Regions from separate parts of the Homo sapiens genome. Here all the other regions are linked to region 3. Evidence: promoter capture Hi-C in human tissues and cell types (Jung and others, 2019). All regions are on one chromosome and are shown on one strand. Each heading gives the region's core, a stretch centred on a gene start or on the middle of the fragment in contact. The rest is flanking DNA. Distances are from core to core; before and after follow the strand shown.

Region 1 (2,500 bases), core at 1-2,500, 260 kb before region 3:
ACCGTACAGTGCCTCAGTGATGCCAGCCTCCGAGACATGCCACGTTTCCTGCCACCTGTTTGCGCACTTTCATCTTCAACTTCACTGCAGTCATTCAAAAGGTTCATAAATAATGTGAAGTATCTGAGAAATAAAAAGACTGACCTTTACATAGTGAAGGCCGTATCAACTAGAAAGCTAACCAGACATTCCAAAACAATCATATGTGCATGGTGTGAATGGCCCTGGGTTAACTGTTTCTCTCCTCTCTCGCGATAATCAGCCAGGGTGGCTTATTATGAAGTGTGCTATGTTGGACATGATTTTACCTGATATAGCCTAGTATACCTTTCATAACATTAGCATCAAATAGATGCAATATTACCTGGTAAATGTGTCACTTTTAATGTTAGTATATAAAATTAGTGGTCCAAACAGCTTAGACAATGTCACTTTTGTAAATGACTTAATGAAGCAATCTGGGTTTTATTATAAGCAAAATTTCACTGATCATATTACTTTCTTTAAAAAAATCACAAAACACAGTTATTTTCCTATCCTAGTCCTGTCATGGGTATTATTTCTTTGCTTTTTTTGTGTGGTGGGGGGCTTTATTTGCTTTTTGCTTTATGTTTTTTGGTGACTGAAATTTACTTAAGAAATAACTGTGATTTGGCTTCCATCAATTCCACACCATCTCCTTCTTCAGGCTGCAGAGGGAGACCAGCTAGAAGTGAAACTACTGCTTCCATGCTTGCCTGGTCCAAATCTCTGAAAAAAAAAAAAAAAAAAAAAAAAAATTTAGAGACCATGAATCTTTCAAGTTCTTTCACTTCCCCTCAAATAAACCTCTTACTAACAGATATAAACCTTAGGAACTACCTATTTCATTAAACAAATTATTAGCACAACCCAAATAATTTGAGTTAATATGCAGATCCCAGAATACAAAATCATCTCAAATGGGGAGAAGGTAATACTTACTTTCTACAAAGTAATCTTGGCAAAATGGCTACCTTAAATCAGAAGCATGTACAATGGGCCCTCTGTATCAGTGAGTTCTATATCCATGGATTCAACCACCCATGGATTGAAAATATTTGGGGGAAAAAAAAGGAGGGTTTCATCTGTACTCAACATGTACAGATTTTTTGTTGTTGTTATTCCCTAAACAATATGGTATAACAAATATTTATACAACATTTATATTGTATTAGATATTATAAGTAATCTGAAGATAATTAAAAATATATGGGAGGATGTGTATAGTTTATATGCAAATACTATGACATCTTAAGTCAGGGACTTGAGCATCTGTGGATTTTAGTGTTCATGGGAGTAAGATGTGGGCAGGGGTTTGGGGAGTGGTTCTTGGAACCAATCCCTGACAGAGAAGACTGTATTATAAAGCTAGGCTTGGTCAAAGAAACATATGTGAATGCTTATTATACAGTCCATAGTGTTTAATCATTTTCTGATATGTGTCAATAAGTATCATTAAAGCAGACTTGATTACTTCCTTTTTTTTCTGTCTCTGGTGCTTGAATCAGGAAATCAATTATTTCTTAAAAAGATTCAACACAATGAGTTCCTCAAATAATACCTTTATCTATCTAATCATAACACAAATGCAATCTGAGGCTTTATGTATCTTATTTCCCAATAACTGTAGACTATTCTTCATAAACTGACAACACTAACTTCCCAAACATATCACTCTTTCACATTTAATTTTACTGAAAGTCTATCAGTCAAAAAAAAGCAGTAATAAAGATTAGCATCTTTACATATTTCAAACACAAAAGTTTGACATCTCAAAAGTTTAAATACACACAAAATACAAGTATAAAGCTGTAATTAAGTAGTTATAACTCTCACAGTAAAACCCACTAATACTTGAAGGTCATTCTTTTTTTACCTTGTAAGACATTTTACATCATCATCTGCTGCTTGGTTTGATGTTCCCATAACCCAGTCTGTCAGGTATTCTACCATCTTATTCCTATAGAATGGTGGAGAAAAGAGAAACAGCAAACAATGTTTTTGAAGCCACACACACACCTTTAGTCACGTAAGATTTCTTATAGTGCAAATAATTTGCCAGATAACCTAAGTGACATGACGACTTTATAAAAGAGATACTGCTATCACAGACATAAAAGCCAGAAGGGAACAAGCAACATGGATATTTATCCTCCATCATGGCCCTTAGTTATGGTATCAGATTGGAAATAGAATCAAATTCTTAGCTCAAGTATAGCACAGTTTTAGAAAAAGGGAGCATTGTCACAGGCACAAAGCTTAGGGAAATTTGAGAAGAGATGTAGAGAAAAACAAACATGTAAATTGCTCTCTTTTCATGTCCTCCTTTCTACCAATAACCGCATATCTACTCTTTTTCTGTACTTCATTGGACATATTAAGATTTACAAGACCCTACATTGCTCTTTTGAGAACTCACCTAAATTTCATCTCTTGGCAAAATGAGAGGTCATCTCTCCTTGCCATCATTACTTCAACT
Region 2 (4,835 bases), core at 1,902-4,401, 280 kb before region 3:
CAGAATCAATATAATTTTGGAACTAAAAACTGATTTTAAAAACCAATAAAAATGCTACATAACAAGTTTCGTAAGTCAACTTATAAAAGGACTGTTTTTTTTTCATTCACCACTAATTGACATCAATGTAATTTTACCTCATAATACATACATGCTCTAGTGTTTTTTTTAATCCATAAAAATCTAATTTGGATCCAAAAGACATTCTGCATAAAAGGTCAAACTTGGGCCAGTCTGTGTGTTGAGACCAGTTATCAGCCAAATGTACCCTTTCTTCCCTTGGTAAAAGCTGACTACATAACGCGAATGCATGTAGTCATAAACTACACTTCAGCAAGAGCATTACTACCCATATATGCTTAGTTACTGCATTCTCCCTGAGTTAGGCAGACAGTTAACTTTCAAAGTAAACCTCATTATACACTATATATTTGAGAATAATAAACAGTTATTTGTAATGTGACTACACAGCTATATACTAGAAGCCAGATCTTCTCTCTATATTTTACATATTCCAATCCATGACATATACACCCAAAAAGAAAGTCAGCTTGCTCTTAAATATCATTAGGTTTTGTTAAAGCACACAACTCCATAAAACAACATTTTAAATTTATGAGTATACTGTCTTCATACTTTGGAATGTACTCTAAAATATCTCGAATTACCAATTAGATTCCCCTTGTTTCCATGAGGAGCTCGTATTACCTGTGCTGAGAAATACATTCCAAAACTTGGTGTTACCCAGAAATTAAAAAAAAATTTTTTGAAAATAACTCTAGTAGAAAAAAAAACATTTCAAGAAACAATTTTAGACATAATCTTAATAAATAAAGCAGTGTTAGAAAGGCTAGAAAACATGCTCTAGAGAAACACAGAAAGCCTGAATTTTAATTATGTGATACACTACAAAATGGCATTAGTATAACACTGAACAAGAGTGTTAGAAGCAGCAAATTAATTTCAACAATGATGGTGTACATTATGTTAAACTCACATATGCTGAGAATTAGAAGGCTGAAGCATTAGAAACGTCTTTATAATCCAATCAATTTGATCATAGCTAGGCAAATTTACTTAATATAATCAAAAATAAAATCTTCAATGGACACAACAAAAGTATATGTCTATAAATTTAAATTTTGATTTGAATTTTAAAAATCTATATTTAAAGCTTAGATAATTTATATGTACAGCTTAGAAACTTATATGTAAAGCTTTTTCGTTTTCTTTTTTTTTTTTTTTTTTTGTGAGACAGGGTCTTACTCTGTCACTCATGGTGGAGTACAGTGATACAATCACAGCTCACTGCAGCCTCAACCACCTGGGCTCAAGCAATCCTCCTGCCTCAGCCTCCCGAGTAGCTGGGACTACAGGAGTACACCACCACGCCTGGCTAATTAAAAAAAAAAAAAAATTATTTGTAGAGACGACTCGCTATGTTGCCCAAGCTGGTCTTTAACTCTTGGGCTCAAGAGATACTCCCACCTTGGTCTCCCAAAGTGCCCGGATTACAGGTATGAGCCACTGTGCCCAGCCATAAAGCTTTTATTATATGTAAAGTTTAGATAAGGCATGAAAGATGAAACCAGATGAACACTGTATTCTAAATTACACCCTTTTAAGAAAACTACCTACTTAGTTTTCTTTACATCTTACTCTACAATCATTTGGATTATATGAACAAAGACAGGGCTCAGCCTGATAAGTCACTGTGACAGATAATGGCAAATGTAAAATGAATGCATATTATATTTTGGACAAATTCCATTCACTGGAAGAAAATAATTACGACTCTCATAATTTTCTTCCTTTTAAATAAATCAAGGCAAGTTCATAGAAGCAGATAGTATATTCACATTATGTTTGCAGAATGATGTGTTTTTCTACAAATATGAACTCAGTTTTCTTTTATCTCAAAAGTACTATCTTATCATTTACCTCTTATTTTTTTGAGGTAAAAGTAGTTTTACCATTAAAATTTCTATAATCTATGCACAAATATCTAAATTATGCCTGAGACTGCCTAGATAAAAATATGAAGAGTAAAAAAATAAAATTTAGCAACTTTTAGGTAAGATTTAGAAAGTGACTCTTTCCCACCATATACTTCTAACAATTAAGAAACACTGTCATCTCTGGGAAAAGAAACCACTCACATTACCTTCAAACAAGAAGCAAGAATGAAGACAGTCAGCGTTTCCTAAGGCCTTGAAATTAAGTTTCTTTGCATTCATTTATAATTTAAAAAGTAACAATAATAAAATTAGACCAAGGATATCCAATGCAACAAATGCCCACAAATTGCCTTTGGGATAAATCAAACCAAAGGAACACAGAGAATGTTTCAATGTAACTTAATTCCAGGGTTAATTGAAATGAAAGCTATTTTGTGCCAGAATTAGTAGAATGATTTTACAGTGAAGGTCAAATAGGCTGAAGTGAAGATATTCTTAACAAACAGCAAAAGATTTTTGTTTTGCTTTGAAAGAAACAGCTAATAAAAAGTTCTCCAAACTTACTGATTTTTTGTTTTCCTTTTTTTCTTTTACTGTAGCTTTATTCAGTAGGGAGTGGCAAGTTGCCTACAGAACAGAGATGAGCACAAACAAGTCACAGCACCGACTACATACAGCAACAAAAACAATGTTGGCTTGTACATAAAATTACACCATAAAATGTAACACAAATGGAATCAACAAAAAATTAGAAATCAACTGAATTTTGAGGAATGAATTTTAATTCTGGGTTTTAATTTTTATTACATTTTTAAGCCAAGCACTAAAACAGCAAGAAATGTTGAGACCCAATCATGTCTACTATTTCTGGCTATGAATCACAGAAAAACTCTCTCCAAGTGAATTTGAGGATATTAAATATTTACATTTTGGTTAATTCCTAGCTTTTGAGAAATGTAATATAAAATATTCATTACAAGTAGATCACACACTAAAAACATTTGTGTCTACATAATTTTTTCTTGGTATGTAAAATTCTTCTCTGTGTATCCTTCAATTGACTTTAAGTTCTTTTTCCAACACCTGGCATTTAATTATGATCCTACTGAATAAAGAAATAAAAATTATATGGATAAATATAAAAATTCACTTTAGAAATTCTGAATTAAAGACCTCTCTCTCTAAAAAAGATTACTCTTAACATTTCACATATTTTTCAATGTTTGCAGGCTACTTCCTGAAATGGTTCTAATCAGAGGAGGTTAAAAGCTCTGCAACATTTGGGAGAAGAAGGTTATCAGCTCAACTAGTAAGAAGCATTAATATTATTAAAGTGAAGAAACTGCAGAGAAAATTACAGAACAAAACTGTAGGCCTGCTTAAAACTTTTCACATATTACAGTTGACCATTTATCAAAATATCTTAAAAAAAAAAAAAAAAAAAGCCACCTAAAAAACCCCCAAAACTCCAGGCACATATTGGTTTCATCTCTCAGAGCTCTTTCTAGACCAAAGATTTCTTTCAAAATTAAAAGACTCTTGATTGGACTAGCCTAGGCAGAATAATTATTTTAAAAATATTTTTAAAACCATGTTAGAATTATTTAATCCACAAATAGATGGCATCTTATTCTGGGAATTCTGGACATCCAACACCATAACCCATAACTTGGGCTTTAAGTTAGTTAGACATCCATTCATCCACCCACCCATTCATCCATCCAAAGAGTTACTGTGTACCTACAGGTCAAATACCATTCTAGGCATTGGGAAATAGCAGTAAAACAACAAGACACAGCCCCTTAGCTCACAGAGCTTTGTTTCAAACTTTAGACTATATACAAATGTATTAGTAACAGTGGTATATAACTATCATTTATAGCCTTAAAACTGTGTGTAAACTACTTCAGTTTGGAGAAGCAGATTTACTGAAAAAGGGTGAGATTTATTTAGAATCATAAATTAGTTCTTAGAATTCTCTCACCATACGAGAATATCCACTTTGGGAATCATTTTATCTTTATCCTAAAACCATCAGGAGAAGTGAAAACAACACATGAGAAAATGATTTAATTATAAATCTGACACATGTTCACAGTTGGCTATTCTTAAATAACCTTAATCCAGTCAACTAAGGAAGGAAGGTATATAAAGTAATAGAGCTGGTTAACACATGATTTGAAAAGGCTTAAAGGCCAAGATATGAACTCAAAAAAGGAGCTAAAGTCCAGGGAAGTTTATTAGCTAGCAATATACTCACTTCCCTTTCAACATTTCCCCAGTAGGTCCCAAAGGGACTACTATCCCTCCAGGCAGAACACAGAAGAGCAGGAAGGTACCTTTCTGTTACTGCCAAAGGCAAAGGGGCAAGAAAAAGCCAGAAGAGGGAAGATGAATAAAAACAAAAGAGCAAACCAAAAGAAATAAACTAGGTTTGGGAAGCAGACTCAATAAAATACTATCTTGAGACCAAAGCTTTTTTCCTATCTTTCTTTCTAATCAGTAAATGTAACATTCCCTGTTACCAGTTACTAATTAAAAAATAAAGCCTTATTTAATAACAACACAGCATGCTGTCTCTGCTCTTCAACAATGCTTTTACCCAATACTTAAACAATGCACTGATACCACCTTTAATTCATGTTTTTAAAGATAATAATTTTATGTGAAATTTTAACATAATAAACCAGGTTTGTTATTAAAATAATATAGGATATTTTACTGTGAAGTGCTCTAAAAAGCATAACATACTGTTTAATAATCACCACATATAGTGTTTAAAAATCTATTTTCACTATTTTCCTCCTTTCTTAGCTGTGAAAGCTGGCAAGAATCTTGTTTACTTAGGTGGGAGGGATGGGAAATTTATTTCTTCAT
Region 3 (4,804 bases), core at 392-2,891:
ATGCTAAGTGAAAGAAACCAGGCACAAAGGGACAAACATTGAACGATTCCAGTTATATGAAATATCTAGAACAGGCAAACTCAGATACAGAAAGTAGCTTAGATGTGAGCAGGGGCTAGAGGGAGGAGAAATGAGGAGTTACTGCTTAATGAGTACAAAGTTTCTGTTTATGATGATGAAACAGTTTTGGAAACAGAAGTGATAGTTGCACAACAGGAAATGTAACTAATTTGTCACTGAATTGTACACTTAAAAATGGTTAAAATAGGCGGGGCGCGGTGGCTCACACCTGTAATCCCAGCACTTTAGGAAGCCGAGGCGGGCAGATCACGAGGTCAGAAGATCGAGACCATCCTGGCTAACAACGGTGAAACCCCGTCCCTATTTTTTAAAAAAAGAAAAAAACATACAAAAAATTAGCCAGGCGTGGTGGCGGGCGCCTGTAGTCCCAGTTACTCGGGAGGCTGAGGCAGGAGAATGGCGTGAACCCGGGAGGCGGAGCTTGCAGTGAGACAAGATGGCGCCACTGCACTCCAGCCTGGGCCACAAAGCAAAACTCCGTCTCAAAAAAATAAAAGGTTAAAATGAGGCCAGGCGCTGTGGCTCATGACTGTAATCCCAGCACTTTGGGAGGCCGAGGCGGACGGATCATCTGTGGTCAAGAGTTTGAGACTAGCCTGGCTAACATGTCGAAACCCCGTCTCTACTAAAAATACCAAAATTAGCCGGGCGTGATGGCGCACGCCTGTAATCCCAGCTACTCTCGAGCCTGAAGCAAGAGAATCACTCGACCCTGGGGGGCGGAGGTTGCAGTGAGCCGAGATCACGCACGCCATTGCACTCCATCCAGCCTGGGCGACAGAGCGAGACTCCGTCTCAAAGAAATAAAGAAAAAGGTTAAAATGGCCAGTTTTAATGTTATATAGATCTTACCACAATTTTACAAGTTTCAGAGAAAGAGACCGAAGATCGATTGGGAAGAAGTTGAAATATGCCAAGCTGTGTAACAGCTAAGTTGACAAGCTTTCGGAAGATGGGGAATTTGTTTTTTTCTACTTCTTCATACTTTTATGAACTTTCCAAAGTGCCTCCGAAGAGCGGAACTCGACTTTTAGACTGAGAAAAGGAACGTAAAAGTAGAACGGCTGAGGAAAGGGGTTCGAGCCACATGGGAAAGGGTCAGGCGGCGGGCAGCCCGGGGGAGCCAGGGGAGCTGCGGGCCCGGCCTCCCTACCCGCTGCAGTTCCGGGCGGCGCCGGGGCCTCGCGGCCGCGCTGGAGAGGGAACTGGAGCCCGGGCAGGGGCAGTGGGCAGGGTCGGAGCCCGCCTGTATCTCGCGTGCGGCGCGGCGGTACTTGTCGGCCAGGTCCTGCAGTAGCGTGTTCTTCCGCAGGTGCGGCTGCTGCGCGGCGCCCTGGCGGCAAGTGGGGCAGGCCCAGCGGCGGGCGTCGCGGGCGCCCCACAGGGCCTCCAGGCAGTGGCGGCAGAAGCTGTGGCCGCAGGGCAGCGTGGCGGGCCAGTCCAGCAGCCCCTGGCAGATGATGCAGCCGAGGTCGTCCTCGGCCAGCCACACGGGAACGGCGGAGCCCAGGCCCAGGCCCGCCATGGCCAACAGGCGGCCGGGGCGCGGACGTCGGGGTTGAGCCGGGCGAGTCTCCTCAGGCTCCTCCCTCGCCCTTCCTCTTCCCCTTGCCCTCCTCCTTTTCTCGGCCGCCTTTTCTCCTCCTTCCTTGGCGCCACCCCGTCTCCTTCCTCCGATCCTGCTGAAAACAGACTTAGAGCCTCCAGTGCCCAGCTGGAAAGACAGAGCTGACCTTCAGTGGCGGCCTCTTGCCCTGGGAAACCAACATGCCGCGAGCTGCTAGAAACCCGCGGAGGTCTCCAAGATTCCCTTTAGCTGGATGTCCCTCCATTAAGATGCAGCACCGTTGGATGTCTTCGTCCGTTGGCTTAAAAAAAAATAAACAACAAAAAAGATGCAACACCGACAACTCTTGGGAGGAGAGGACTCCATTCAGCAGCTTATTTATGAGAATGAGCCCACGAAGTGTCATCCAGCTCCTCTAACAAGTAGCAGGGGATTAAAGATCACCGATGCACAGCCACAGGGAGCGTCCTCAAAAATGCTGATGTTCGGCCCCGCTCGCAGGGAGTCTGATTTCATTGTCTTGGGTGGAGCACGGGTATTTTGTAAAACCTCCCCCAGGTGATTCTGACGCGCATTCAAGGTTGAGTGAGCGAACCCTTGGCTTTTTAACTCGCAGGTATAATGCAGAGTTGTGCGCTGTGTCCTTACCGCCTTCTGCGGGATGTAAGCGCGTTTCCCAACAGACACTCGGACAAAATTCTAGAAAGTGTTTTCCTGAGAAGGCTCACTCACTCACTCACTTCGCATCCCAGTCCTAAACGCATTGCAACCAGAAAATGTTAGAGCTAAAAGAGCACCACGTCCTCCCAGATGACCCAAAGAGGTTAAAAAAAAAAAAAAGAGAAAAAAGAAAAACTTGCAGGCTCTCATGGTAACAATGAAGCGTCAGAGACTAAAACCCACAACTCCCCAATCTGTTGAAATGAACTAACAACGTCTCATGCTTTACTTTATCCTTTCTGGCCTGGGCTCAAAGTAGGTATCAGATAATACAAGTTTGTAGCCGACCTTTGGATCACTTGAAGTCAGGAGTTCAAGACCAGCCTGGCCAACATGGTGAACCCTCATCTCTACTGAAAATACAAAAAGAAAAGAAAAGAAAAGCCAGGCGCCCTGGCGCATGCCTGTAATCCCAGCTACTTGGGAGGCTGAGGCAGGAGAATCTCTTGAACCCGGGAGGCGGAGGTTTCAGTGAGCCAAGACTGCGCCACTGCACTCCAGCCTGGGCGACATAGGGAGACTCCGTCTCAAAAAAAAAAAAAAAAAAAAAAAGAAAAAAAAGAAAGAAAAGAAAGAAAAAAAAGCGTTTGTGGTTATTTCTAATACTGGAAGTGTCATGGAGTAGGCAGCGCTGCTCATCAACGTTTCCAGTGCTTTCCCTTTCTGGGCACATGGTAGGACTGGCACTTCCCTGACCCACTTGAAACACACAGAGGTAATATGTTACTTCCCACCAGCTTTAAAGGCGACTGAGCCGGCCATTGTATCCCTTTCTGCCAGCTGCCCCAATTATGGAGATGAAACCATCATCCGGTGACCTGGGTCACTGAGTGGCTAAGATGAGCAGACTCCCTGCCAACGCACCCTAGGATACGTAGTAAGAGGGAGAAGAAAACTAGGATGTATTCAGCTTACTGAGATTTAGTGGGTGTGTGCTGCTACAGCATAACCTAGCCTATCCTGACTGATGTATTACCTGGATCTTGTTCTAGAATCTCCGCATCGGAGTAAAATCGTAGTTTCTAAGAGCCTCTTTTTTTCTGTAAAACGGGCATGATACTAAACACTTAAACATGCTCAGATCTTCCAACTTAAAAAATGAAATCACTGGCGGGGCGTGGTGGCTTATGCCTGTAATCTCAGCACTTTGGGAGGCTGAGGCAGGTGGATTGCCTGAACTCAGGAGTTCGAGACCTGCCTGAGCAACATGGTGAAACCTTGCCTCTACAAAAAAAATACAAAAACTACCTAGACATGGTAGCGCAGGCCTGTGATCCCAGCTACTCAGGAGACTGAGGTGGGAGGATTGCTTGAGCCAGGGAGGTGGAGGCTGTAATGAGCCATGAGATCTCAGGAGGTCAAGACTGTGGTTAGCTGTGATCACACCACTTCACTCCAGCCTGGGGAAGGAGCTAGACCTAGTCTCAAAAAAATTAAAAATTAAAAAATAAAATAAAATCACCTTTGACCTGAGCCTCCCTGGAACCAGCTCTCCTCTTCTCCATTTCACAGCCAAGTTTCTGGAAAGAGTGAGTTAACCAGTAGTTTTCAAACTTTTTTCTTGGACACGCCCTAAAAGTTTTATGCAAAATCATGCAGTGGTTATAAGAAAGGGGGAAGTGGGGGCCGGGCGCAGTGGCTCACGCCTGTAATCCCAGCACTTTGGGAGGCTGAGGCGGGCGGATCATGAGGTCAGGAGATTGAGACCATTCTGGCTAACACGGTGAAACCCCGTCTCTACTAAAAAATACAAAAAAAATTAGCCGGGCGTGACGGCGGGAGCCTGTAGTCCCAGCTACTCAGGAGGCTGAGGGAGGAGAATGACCTGAACCCAGGAGGCGGAGCTTGCAGTGAGCTGAGTTCGCACCACTGCACTCCAGCCTGGGCGACAGAGCAAGACTCTGTCTCAAAAGAAAAAAAAAAAAGAAAGAAAGAAAGGGGGAAGGGGGAGAGTGGTCAGCTCTGGTAGTAAAAATATATTAGCAAATTCTTCATTTATATCAGATTTTTTTTTTTTTTGAGATGGAGTCTCACTTTGTTGCCCAGGCTGGAGTGGAGTGGAGTGGCACAATCTCGTCTCACTGCAACCTCCACCTCCCGGGTTCAAACCATTCTCCTGCCTCAGCCTCCGGAGTAGCTGAGATTACAGGCGCTCGCCACCATGCCCGGCTAATTTTGTATTTTTAGTAGAGATGGGGTTTCCCCATGTTGACAGGGTTTCTCCATGTTGGCCAGGCTTGTCTCGAACTCCTGACCTCAGGTGATCCGCCCACCTCATCCTCCCAAGTGCTAGGATTACAGAGGTGAGCCACCGCGCTCAGCCTACATCAGACATTTTGTCATTCTTGGCCGAGTGCGGTGGCTCATGCCTGTAATCCCAGGACTTTGGGAGGCCGAGGCAGGCGGATCATGAGGTCAGGAGTTCGAAAAATACAA
Region 4 (5,292 bases), core at 624-3,123, 350 kb before region 3:
GTGCTTGATAAAAATGCAGTTTCCTGGTCCCAACCTGGACCTACTAAATATGGATCTATGTAGTGGGGCCTGGAAATTTTTATCTTTTTTTTTTTTCCCTTAACTCAGGCTGGACTGCAGTGGCACGGTCACAGCTCACTGTAGCCTTGACCTCCCCAGGCTCAGGTGATCCTCCCACCTCAGCCTCCTGAGTAGCTGGGACTACAGATAAGCGCCACCATGCCCGGCTAGTTTTTTGTTTTTGTTTTTTTGTATTTTTTGTAGAGACAGGATTTTGCCATGCTGCCCAGGCTGGTCTCGAATTTCTGTGGCTCAAGTAATCCTCCCGCCTCAGCCTCCCAAAGTGCTGAGATTACAGGTGTGAGCCACCATGTCCTGCTTTTATAATTTTTAAACAATCTTCTCATCTGATGTTTATGTACACAAACATTTCTGAATCATTGTTGTATGTATTAGGGAACTGTTCAACCGGTTTTATTTTCCCTTAAAGAAAGGGTGGTATGACCAAAGACAGTGATGTATACAAGATATAAGAAGGATTCAGGGCTACCGAAAAGGCACTGTAGAGTCTAGGTATGACCTGATAAGGATCTAAAATAGTACTGTTGACAGTAAAAACAGGGAAAAAGAAACTGATCCAACAATATGAAGGAAGGACCAACATGATTCAAAGTCTGATCAGGACTGAGAGGACTTAAATTAAAATGATGTGTTGTATACTAAGCCTCTGATATTAGAATGTTGCTATCATGAACAGAAACAAGAAGACTGTCACAGGCAGCCTCCTTTAAAGAAAAAATAAAGTTCTTTTTATTTCATTAATTTAATTAATTTTTAAGAGATGGAGTCTTGCTATGTTACCCAGGCTGGATTTGAACTCCTGGGCTCCACCAGTGATCCTCCTACCTCAACCTACCTAGTAGCTGGGATTACAGATATGTGCTGCCATATCCAGTTCTTTTTTTTTTTTTTTTTTTTTTTTTTTTTTTTTTTGAGACAGAGTCTTACTCTGTCTTCCTGGCTGGAGTGCAGTGGCATGATCTTAGCTCATGCAGCCAAGATCTCATGATCTCTGCAGCCTCCACGTCCCGGGTTCAAGCTATTCTCCTGTCTCAGCCTCCCAAGTAGGTGGGACTACAGGTGCATGCTACCCTGCCTGGTTAATTTTTATATTTTTAGTAGAGACAGGTTTTCTCTATGTTGGCCAGGCTGGTCTTGAACTCCTGGCCTCAAGTGATCTGCCTGCGTCAACCCTCCCAACGTGCTGGGATTACAGGTGTGAGCCACCGTGTTCAGCCCATACCTAGTTCTTAAAGTCTGTTTCAGTCATGTTAAACTTGAGGTGATGACAGGATGTTTGACAGTTGTGTGTGTGTGTGTGTGTGTGTGTGTGTGTGTGTATACACACACTACACCACACGAAAGCATTTTCTGTCCCATATAATCTAAGTTTACTAGATATTTTCTCAAATAATTGCTGCAGTTCCACAATTGTTACATTATCTGATCAGTATCCCATGGACTCCAAACTCACATTTTCAAATCAGTCTGTAGATTTCAAATAAGTCTTTTAGAGAAGATTTGAAATGGAAGATACCATTTCAAAACCTCTTTTGAATGACACTAAAGCATGTAGCAGGCCTATAGAATGAGCATACTGTCAAAAGGCATTAAGTGGAAAACCCTCCCTGCTCTGGAGGCGGGGATTGGTTCTACAAAGCCTCCTGTCATGCCAGTGGCCAACTAGAGAAGTTGGAGCTTTTTCGTTGTTTTTTTTTTTTTCCCTCCTGTGACATGTGCTTTAGTTGCAGTGGAAAGGAAATGTGTCATCTGTGGTTTGGTTTTAAAAGTGGAAAACTAGCTGCACATATCCTTTTTTACTGCAGATTTACTTTAAGGCTCATATTCTCCAAGTCTATTCTGCTTTAAAAAGAAGACAAGAAAAGAAGTGGTTTATCAAAATCACGTTATAATCAGATTTTGACCAAGCATTTTGTAAGGTAGGTCATATATATACGGCTTTTCTTATGCCTTTTCACTTCTAACGTCTGACAGATTAGTGTTCGAGGAAATGCTATCAAAGTGTGTAAGAATCTCACTAACAAACTAGAATTGTGACTGAAAATGTATACTTTTTTTTTCTGTCCTGTTACATAAATTTTAAGTTAGAAATGAAAAAATTTGCCATCGCCATGGAGTTTTAAATTAGGATTACGAAGGATCTAAGTTTGGTTTCCTCAAGTAAACTGGAAATGTTTTGTTATTTTTCAAAAGTTAAAAAATAAATTTCTCATTACTAATGCTTGGACATTACAAATTCTACTGAAAATAAATTCTACTGAAAATGATCAGATATAAGAAAACTTCTGATAACACAACCTGGCCTCCAAGGCATAAACTGGAGTAAAAACAGTCCTCAATTCTCAGGCATTTGTAAGGGCAAGAGAAAGTCTCATTTTGTCATACAGTTTGTTTATTTGGGCACTGCAGTACATCTGGCTGAAGACAATCAACAGCAGGCCTATTATCTGTTCCGTGGTAAGCACTGTTAAAATGTGTACCAATACTATGATGTATACTACACTGTTAATGAACTAATGTGAAAAGAATAATCTACTTTAAATCATTCTAGCATCTAATACAGAAGTCCAGTCTAGTATAAAAAGATGGAAATTACTTGCTAATCCAATTTCAAGTATTTCTTTTTGTGGAAGAATCATGAAATATCCAAAGATTTATGTCACTAAACTTAAAAATTAAAGCTGAACACTATTATACAAAAGCCAGTGACTTGGGCCTTTAATTGTCTACTAAAGGTCATAATCTAAAAAGTAATCTTAATCCTGGAATATTTAATAGTTTTTCCTCCCTACTATTAATATGAAATATAGTCTCCAGTTAGCATTGTTTATTACATGCTACTTTTGTTTGCATAACTCAACGTATCACATTTCTTATTTTCAATTTCTGTATTTTAATAGTATACAAATGTCAGCCAATGACATATAACAACCATTTCTTATAAAACCTTGATGTTCAAAAGCCTGACTAGCAGTGGCATCCATGTTGCTTAGGAGTTGGTTTGGAAACAAAGACTTTCAGGCCCTACCTATACTAGCTAGGTAAGAATCTGCCTTTTTTTTTTTTTTTTAAATAAAAGGACTCCTAAGTACATTTGAGAAGAATTTCTATAGCATACGTAGGGTTCTTAACCAGGCAATTTCATTTAGTAAATCTCAGGAGAACAATATAGTTTTGCTTTTAGTTCATTCAAATAAATGCTAACAATAAAATACTCCTTTCAAAAGTAGCTCAAGACAAACTGGTATATTATTATAAGATACCTTAATAATGATTATAAATCTTTCCTGCTGGGTTAGCAGTACATGGAACTGTTAAATTCTAAGATATGCCATTTCTATTTAAATCAATCATTTGGTAGATTTAAAAAATGTATAATATAACTTGTCTCCTTTTTGTACTAGTTTCCAGCAAGCTCAGGGCCAAAGCGGAAATTCAACATTTTCAATTATCTGTTGAGATGCTTATAACCTGCCACTTCATCCCAAATCATCAAGATCCTGATGCTCTATTTCTATTTTATTACACATTTTTTTTTACAATTATGTCAAAATCAGAAAAAATGCTAGGTATAAATGATGCTTTAAAAGAAAACCCAGCAACTTTTGTTGAACTTTTAAGTCTACTCAGAGGAAATTTGCTGTTTTTTTTTTTTTTTCTTCAGATTTTTAGGTTGAGAAAACTGGTATGCCTTTGCCTTCAGAAAGACACAGTCAGTCCAGGGAAATATAAATGAAAAGAGACAACCACCACAGTAAAATTGCGTTCACAAATACACTTACAAATGTATTTCTAAGTACCAGCTTTATTCTAAGCTTCAAGATGAACACCCAAGAAAAAAAAAGAACACCTTGAATTTCTATTTGAAGTTCAGTTTCTTTTGGTTGCTACCAAACTTCCCCTCTTTCCACCAAAAAAATTTGCATTTATTTCATACATGAAGCAAGAAGCTCAAGGCCACATTTCTTCTGTAAAGATTGGTGACAGGTTAGAGGGTGGGTAGTTTCTGTAAGAATGATCCTTAATTTTTTTTTTTTTTTAAAGAAGGAATCAGAAAAGTAAAAGCAGAACTAACTGACTCAAAGCAGAAGTCTAGCACGCTTCAAAGGAAGAAAACTATATAAAGCCATGATAGTCCACTTAAAATGATTAATATTTATTTGTAATGCTAACTTCTAGCATCTAAAAGTGTTAATAGAAATTAAAATGCTTCTTCATACATAGCTGAATAGAAAAGAAATTTAGTTGAGAAGGAATTCAGGGTAGCGAATATTAGGCATAAGCTTGTAGTTTACTTGTAACATCTCAACACTATCTTTTAACTACAATTACCAAAACTAGGATCCATTATTCTTTCACAAACTAACAAATTATATTGCTATCCCAACAGATTGCCAAGCATGCCCACGGACATGGAACACACAGGACATTACCTACATCTTGCCTTTCTGATGACAACAGTTTTTTCTTTGTCTCCTGGAACAAAAGCAAACTATACCCGTCTGTGGGCTAACAGTACTTCTTCCTGGGATTCAGTTATTCAAAACAAGACAGGCAGAAACCAAAATGAAAACATTAACACAAACCCTATAACTCCTGAAGTAGATTATAAAGGTAATTCTACAAACATGCCTGAAACATCTCACATCGTAGCTTTAACTTCTAAATCTGAACAGGAGCTTTATATACCTTCTGTCGTCAGCAACAGTCCTTCAACAGTACAGAGCATTGAAAACACAAGCAAAAGTCATGGTGAAATTTTCAAAAAGGATGTCTGTGCGGAAAACAACAACAACATGGCTATGCTAATTTGCTTAATTATAATTGCAGTGCTTTTTCTTATCTGTACCTTTCTATTTCTATCAACTGTGGTTTTGGCAAACAAAGTCTCTTCTCTCAGACGATCAAAACAAGTAGGCAAGCGTCAGCCTAGAAGCAATGGCGATTTTCTGGCAAGCGGTCTATGGCCCGCTGAATCAGACACTTGGAAAAGAACAAAACAGCTCACAGGACCCAACCTAGTGATGCAATCTACTGGAGTGCTCACAGCTACAAGGGAAAGAAAAGATGAAGAAGGAACTGAAAAACTTACTAACAAACAGATAGGTTAGTGAAGAAAAATGCAAAGTAGCAATGAGAAGGCTTATGGAGTAAAAATGAAGTCAGTTGGTATTTAATCCCAAAGTGTTGTTCTGATTATCTAAAATTTGA
Region 5 (5,352 bases), core at 1,260-3,759, 500 kb after region 3:
AAATTGTGAGGTCTGCTCCAACTCTAGGAGGGACACACCTTCCACTAGAGATTTCAATTGAACTTGGTCACCTAGAAGCAGAGCCACATGGCTTGACACCTGGAGTACCCAAACTGTGCATGGCTGCCTAGATTCTAGACATCCTATTTCCTATGCCCAGGCCCTCTTTCCAATGTGTTCCATTCACGTTCTGCTAAATAGAAAACTGTGTATAATCCTTCCTCTTTTGTCCTCCCAACACTCACATCTTCCAAATCAAAACCCAGGAGTCAACTCTGTATGATCTCTGCAACTTTTCTATAAATCTAAAATTATTACTTTTAAAAATATAGCAGTCCTGTCAGTCATTACTGTAACTTGCCCAGTCCCTTTCTGTTCCATTCCCTCTCAATAGCATCAATGCTTTTGACTGTAGATCAAAAGCCTGTTTAGTCTTGAAAAACTCTGCTAGGAACCATATGTACATAAATAAATAATAAATAACAATAATAAATACTGGAATAACCTCAAATATTTGAAATTAGCAATCTAGACTTTCTCCATTACTCCTTCACTTTGGCTCCACCTCAATGGCAATCACAGAATATAATCCATGTTATCATAGCAATTTCTATTTAATCTGCACTCTATTTCCTCCGTGTTCCGTCTTAAGTTTCTCCACTTGCTGATTTTCCACCTACAGTTTTGACTTGATCACTGCCTCTTCATATTGCTGAATTTGAAATATCCATCTCAGTATACTCCCACTTCCAATTACCATACCTTCAATCTTATCAAGTAATTCTCACCCTTTTTTCCTCAGTCTTCTAGGCTGGCCTCTAAACTTCAACACCTTACTACTCCATATAGGCCATCCTGTCTCATTCGTGCTTACCTTGTCTACATTTGTTTACACAGTAATTAGGGAAGAGGATTATTTGACCTCAACTAAAATGCCAAAGAAATAGCATGTTTACTTTTAATATTCTACTAATGTAGGTGAAAATTGTGATATTAAAGTTAAAATTGGGCCGGGCGCAGTGGCTCACGCCTGTAATCCCAGCACTTTGGGAGGCCAAGGTGGGAGGATCACTTGAGGTCAGAAGTTCCAGACCAGCCTGGCCAACATGGCGAAACCCTGTCTCTACTAAAAACACAAAAATTAGCTGGGCGTGATGGCGCATGCCTGTAATTCCAGCTACTTGGGAGGCTGAGGCAGGAGAATTGCGTGAACCCGGGAGCCAGAGGTTGCAGTGAGCCGAGATCGTGCCACTGCACTCCAGCCTGGGAGACAGAGTGAGACTCTGTCTCAAAAAAAAAAAAAAAAAAAAAATATATATATATATATATACATATATATGTATGTATATGTATATACATGCATACATATGTATGTGTATACATATACATACACACGTATGTATGTATATACATATACATACACACACGTATGTACATACATACACGTGTATATGTACATACATATACACGTGTGTATGTATGTACATATACATACATATATATATATAGAGAGAGAGAAAGGTAAAATTGGGCTTTATCTACTGATTTTATTGCTTTAAAGTTGTGTGTAATAATTAATGGTGTATTTATCTGAGGTTTGCAATAAATAGCATAGAACCAGTTGGTATTCTAACTATAAGTGAGTCTAAGACATGAAGACCCACACAATGGCACTTATTCATAATTGAGTAGTATTAGCGTTGACCATCATGTTTAATTTGCTGAGAACAATCAGCTATTATAAATCTGAAAAGCTGAACATAATAACTAGATTACTGTTTATGAAACAAACCAAAAGGGTTCTTGATTCAGGTATGAGAAAACTAAGAAAATTCAGGAAAATATTTCAAACACTGAGAGAAAAAGAACTGTTATCACTATTCACACTTCCTGTAGCAGTTAAGTAACGTTGTTTTCACTAAAGAAGCATAAATACAACTTAATTTCATTTAAAAACAAATATGAAGCATCTTGGCATAATTAAAACTTTACTGCCATGCTTTAGACAATCTATTGAACCACATAATAAAAAATTTCTTTTTTTATTTGTGTCTCAGAATTTCTTCTAAATTAAAAAGATCACCTATAAACAGATCTTTATTTATACATTTGATAAAGTAACTTTCTTTCAAAGGCATAAGAAGACATCACATGAAGGAAAATGATGCTGGTTACCATGGGCATTCAATTCCAAGTCAAATATTATGTTGGGACCTTTGCTAACATTATTTCATTTAATTTTCCACTGCAATCCTATCAAGGATTATTCAACCAGTAGAGAAACTGAGGCTCAGAGAATGTCAAGAAACTTGTACAAGGTCACATTGGAAGCAAGTAGCAGAACGAAGAATCAGTCACAGATTGGTCCAACTCCAAAGTCCATGCTCAAACCTCTATGCTTTATTTCCTTTACAGCAGAGACTTTTAGATGAACCAATCACTATTGAAATATAACCTATTTCCATTTATATTTCTCTGGTCTGGACTATGAGTACTTTATCAGCAGAGTCTGTTTCTCATACAACTTTGCTTTCCCAATTCCTATTAGGGTAGAAGTAACACATTGTTGCTAAGTGAAAAGGGGATATTGAATTCATCCTTGCTGTGCCTAAAAGTGCCGGGACACATTATTCTAACTGGGCCTCACCTGGAAAAAGGACCAAATTTTTAACGAACAAGTTTAAAATGCGTACATAAAAACCTTTCAATGACCAGTTTTGTGTTGTTATTGTGAAATGATTGAACATATATAACAATCTAGCTGAGCTACAAACAGAAAACTGTGGCTACTACATAATGCGATTTCAGAAACAAAGCTTTCTTTTGAGTCAATTCATAAATACAGAAACATTCCATAGGTGATACCCTGTATTCTGATCCTGGTACTATTTTTCCACTAGCATAGGCAGAAAAACTAAATAATTTTCAAACTGGACCTATAACTTTTTCCGGCATATTGCATCTGAAAAAAGATTATGAGACAAAACACAAAGAAAGACAAACATCGTAAAATAACTTTTATACAGGATTAGTAGATCTGTTTACATATAAAAAACAGAAAGGACCTCATTACAGTTAGATTTCACATAAATTACAAATTGACTTTTAAAAACTACTATTCAACTTCATTTAAAGTCCCTTTTAAAAATTTCATTTTGAAGGCACAGTGCATGAAATAAACCAAAGACTGAAGCACTTGAGATGAATGGGTGTTGGGCACCTCACATAAACAGCTGTAGATTGCTCTAGAACTGGGAGTATCACTTGGAAAAACTGGAGAGGTGAAAAGCTGATTTTTAATCTGAGCATAAAAAAATACTATTGTCATACCTCCAGAAAATCTGTAGCATGGCCAGCATAGAAGGTAGTTAGTACACTCATGTTATGCCATTTATAAAAATCATAATCATACATATTTACATAATTTATATCCAACTGCCTCAAAATGGTAACCTACTTTCAAATTTCATAATGTATGCTGTCAAATCAAAATCAACCAGGACAATATTCTGAAAATCAAGTGGAATCATTAACGAATTATTGCTAAAAATAGGATAAATGGGTATTGGGAGAGATTTCTTCATGAACTAGAAATCCAAGTTCAGCTGACATTAATCAAAGACCCAAATCATATCCCCAAAATTTTAGCTAAAACAAATCAGAAACCCAAAGAGTTACCAAAAAAGTTGCTATAGAAAATCACTGAACATCAATCATAGTGGAATTTTTGGTAATAACAATAAAACAAAAATATATTGGAAATCCTGGGTTGTCACTGTTAAAACAATTCCACCAGAAAACCATAATGTAGGGCACTATTACAGAATTCATTGCCAAGAAGCTTTTCATACAGCAGGGACAATACCTGGCACAAGTGCATTTCTGGCAACAACAAGATAAAACTATTTAATGTTGAGAATAAATGGAAATGGAGGAGCAGGTCATGGTTACTGAGTAACCTGGTGTTAGCTCAAACACAATAAGCTCAGACATAAACACTACCTTTTATTTATTTGTCAACTCATAATTAGTTTTAAATTCAATAGTCATTAATTCAGCAAATCCCATTCAAGTAAAAGTTACCAAAGATAAAGCAATCAATCACACTGGGCCAAATATACAATATGTTTCCTTTCTGGAAGATGACAAAGTCCCAAAGCAAATCCCTTCAATGAGCATTGCAAGCATTCCTCAACTGGATAGGATCCCACTCACTACCCAAGTGTTCAGCAAAATGCATCAAAACTGAAGGGTCTTTCTTTCTGAAATGACTTGGGCACATCTTACTGAACTACATAATCAATACAAGTACATGTACACAGGCAGACACTTTGAACATTACCTACTCAATCACTTTGCTTTTATTAAGGAGCTGGGAAGGAAGAAGGCTTACAAACTGATCACCAGGACAAAGCCCATGCCTTGTGAGTAAAGAAAGGCACAACTCAGATTTAGGCAAATTTCTTAATACTATGATACTTACTTGCCGCCATAACTCCAAGGAAATGGAAAGTCTCTCGGAGAAACACTGAAGAAATGCATTCCCCATCCCATATGGCTTCAATGCCTTAAGCGGTTAATATATTCTAATATTAGATTAGACCCGCAAATAAAAGACAGGGCAGGGCTGAGAATATAGTCTTAGTAGTCAGGTATCCTATACATTCACGCTTCTAGGTAATACAAGCTGGGAAAGTCTTGTTTTCCAGCTAAATGCATTATTTAAAAGTTCATTGAAGATCAAGACTTATAGCAGAATTTGGTTTTTCTTTCAGGAAATATTACTAAAATAACTATGTGTATGTTCATTTCTTTAAAAATTTTACACATGCTTAAAAGGCATGGCCTCCAGCCACTGAGATGTACAGTTAAAGACATATTTGATCCAAGAGAGAAGTACATGTAAAAGGTATCCTCTAGTGAAGACCAATGATAACAAAGCAAAGCTTGTCACATTAACTTTGTTTCACTTGCTGTAATGTCCCAAGCAGGGGCAGCCACTCTTAGGCCCCTTGTTGGTTTCCTGACTGTACTCTTAAAAATAAAGCTGAAAAAGAGCAATACACCACCATCCTTAAAGAAAACATAAAGATTATTAGAAATTAAATCATGTATACTTCACTAACTATTAGCATCCCACAAGCTCTGTTCCATGTATGAGGTGGCAGAATTTACAGTTGCTAATACCAGAATACCAGAATGGCTTAACCTTGAACCACGGATTTATCACAGATACTTATTAACAAATGACATGACCTCATTATTCTTGCTAAAGAAAATCTTCTTTTATAAAGCCACTTTGAATGCATTCCTCACAAAACCTGGTTGAACGACCTAGGAAGGTGGTAAACC

Evidence for each region. Contacts are between HindIII fragments. The study calls those that stand out against the background at their distance.
Region 1: a fragment that was not itself captured here is called in contact with the fragment with the promoter of RNF135 in region 3 in 1 of the 25 tissues and cell types used here (lymphoblastoid cells).
Region 2: a fragment that was not itself captured here is called in contact with the fragment with the promoter of RNF135 in region 3 in 2 of the 25 tissues and cell types used here (dorsolateral prefrontal cortex and spleen).
Region 4: a contact is called between the fragment with the promoter of EVI2A here and the fragment with the promoter of RNF135 in region 3, in 1 of the 25 tissues and cell types used here (bladder).
Region 5: a fragment that was not itself captured here is called in contact with the fragment with the promoter of RNF135 in region 3 in 1 of the 25 tissues and cell types used here (IMR-90 fibroblasts).

The regions. Positions count from the first base shown.
Region 1 is chr17:31,230,323-31,232,822 of GRCh38, reverse strand. It overlaps NF1 (neurofibromin 1), which reads right to left. Exons shown (of 58, transcript NM_001042492.3): 23 at 2,441-2,500; 24 at 1,898-1,981; 25 at 634-750; 26 at 1-123. Among named protein-coding and RNA genes, the nearest start is that of OMG, 66 kb to the left of the region's middle. The HindIII fragment of the contact is 4,182 bases long and covers 1-2,500 here.
Region 2 is chr17:31,250,688-31,255,522 of GRCh38, reverse strand. NF1 (neurofibromin 1) reads right to left here. Exons shown (of 58, transcript NM_001042492.3): 31 at 2,523-2,585. Among named protein-coding and RNA genes, the nearest start is that of OMG, 44 kb to the left of the region's middle. The HindIII fragment of the contact is 3,539 bases long and covers 1,382-4,835 here.
Region 3 is chr17:30,967,876-30,972,679 of GRCh38, reverse strand. RNF135 (ring finger protein 135) reads right to left here and starts at 1,641. Exons shown (of 5, transcript NM_032322.4): 1 at 1,235-1,641. The coding sequence starts at 1,606. RefSeq lists enhancers at 826-1,075, 1,104-1,665, 1,766-2,015, 1,666-2,227, 2,296-2,355 and 1 more and a silencer at 1,146-1,685. The HindIII fragment of the contact is 16,210 bases long and covers 1-4,804 here.
Region 4 is chr17:31,318,203-31,323,494 of GRCh38, reverse strand. It overlaps EVI2A (ecotropic viral integration site 2A), which reads left to right and starts at 1,873. Exons shown (of 2, transcript NM_014210.4): 1 at 1,873-2,000; 2 at 4,472-5,292. The coding sequence starts at 4,482. The coding sequence ends at 5,192. The region is part of intron 36 of NF1 (neurofibromin 1); the gene reads right to left. RefSeq lists enhancers at 4,725-4,784, 4,995-5,044. The HindIII fragment of the contact is 10,482 bases long and covers 1-4,130 here.
Region 5 is chr17:30,466,332-30,471,683 of GRCh38, reverse strand. It overlaps CPD (carboxypeptidase D), which reads right to left. Exons shown (of 21, transcript NM_001304.5): 21 at 1,695-5,352. Among named protein-coding and RNA genes, the nearest start is that of GOSR1, 8.4 kb to the left of the region's middle. The HindIII fragment of the contact is 7,123 bases long and covers 1-5,352 here.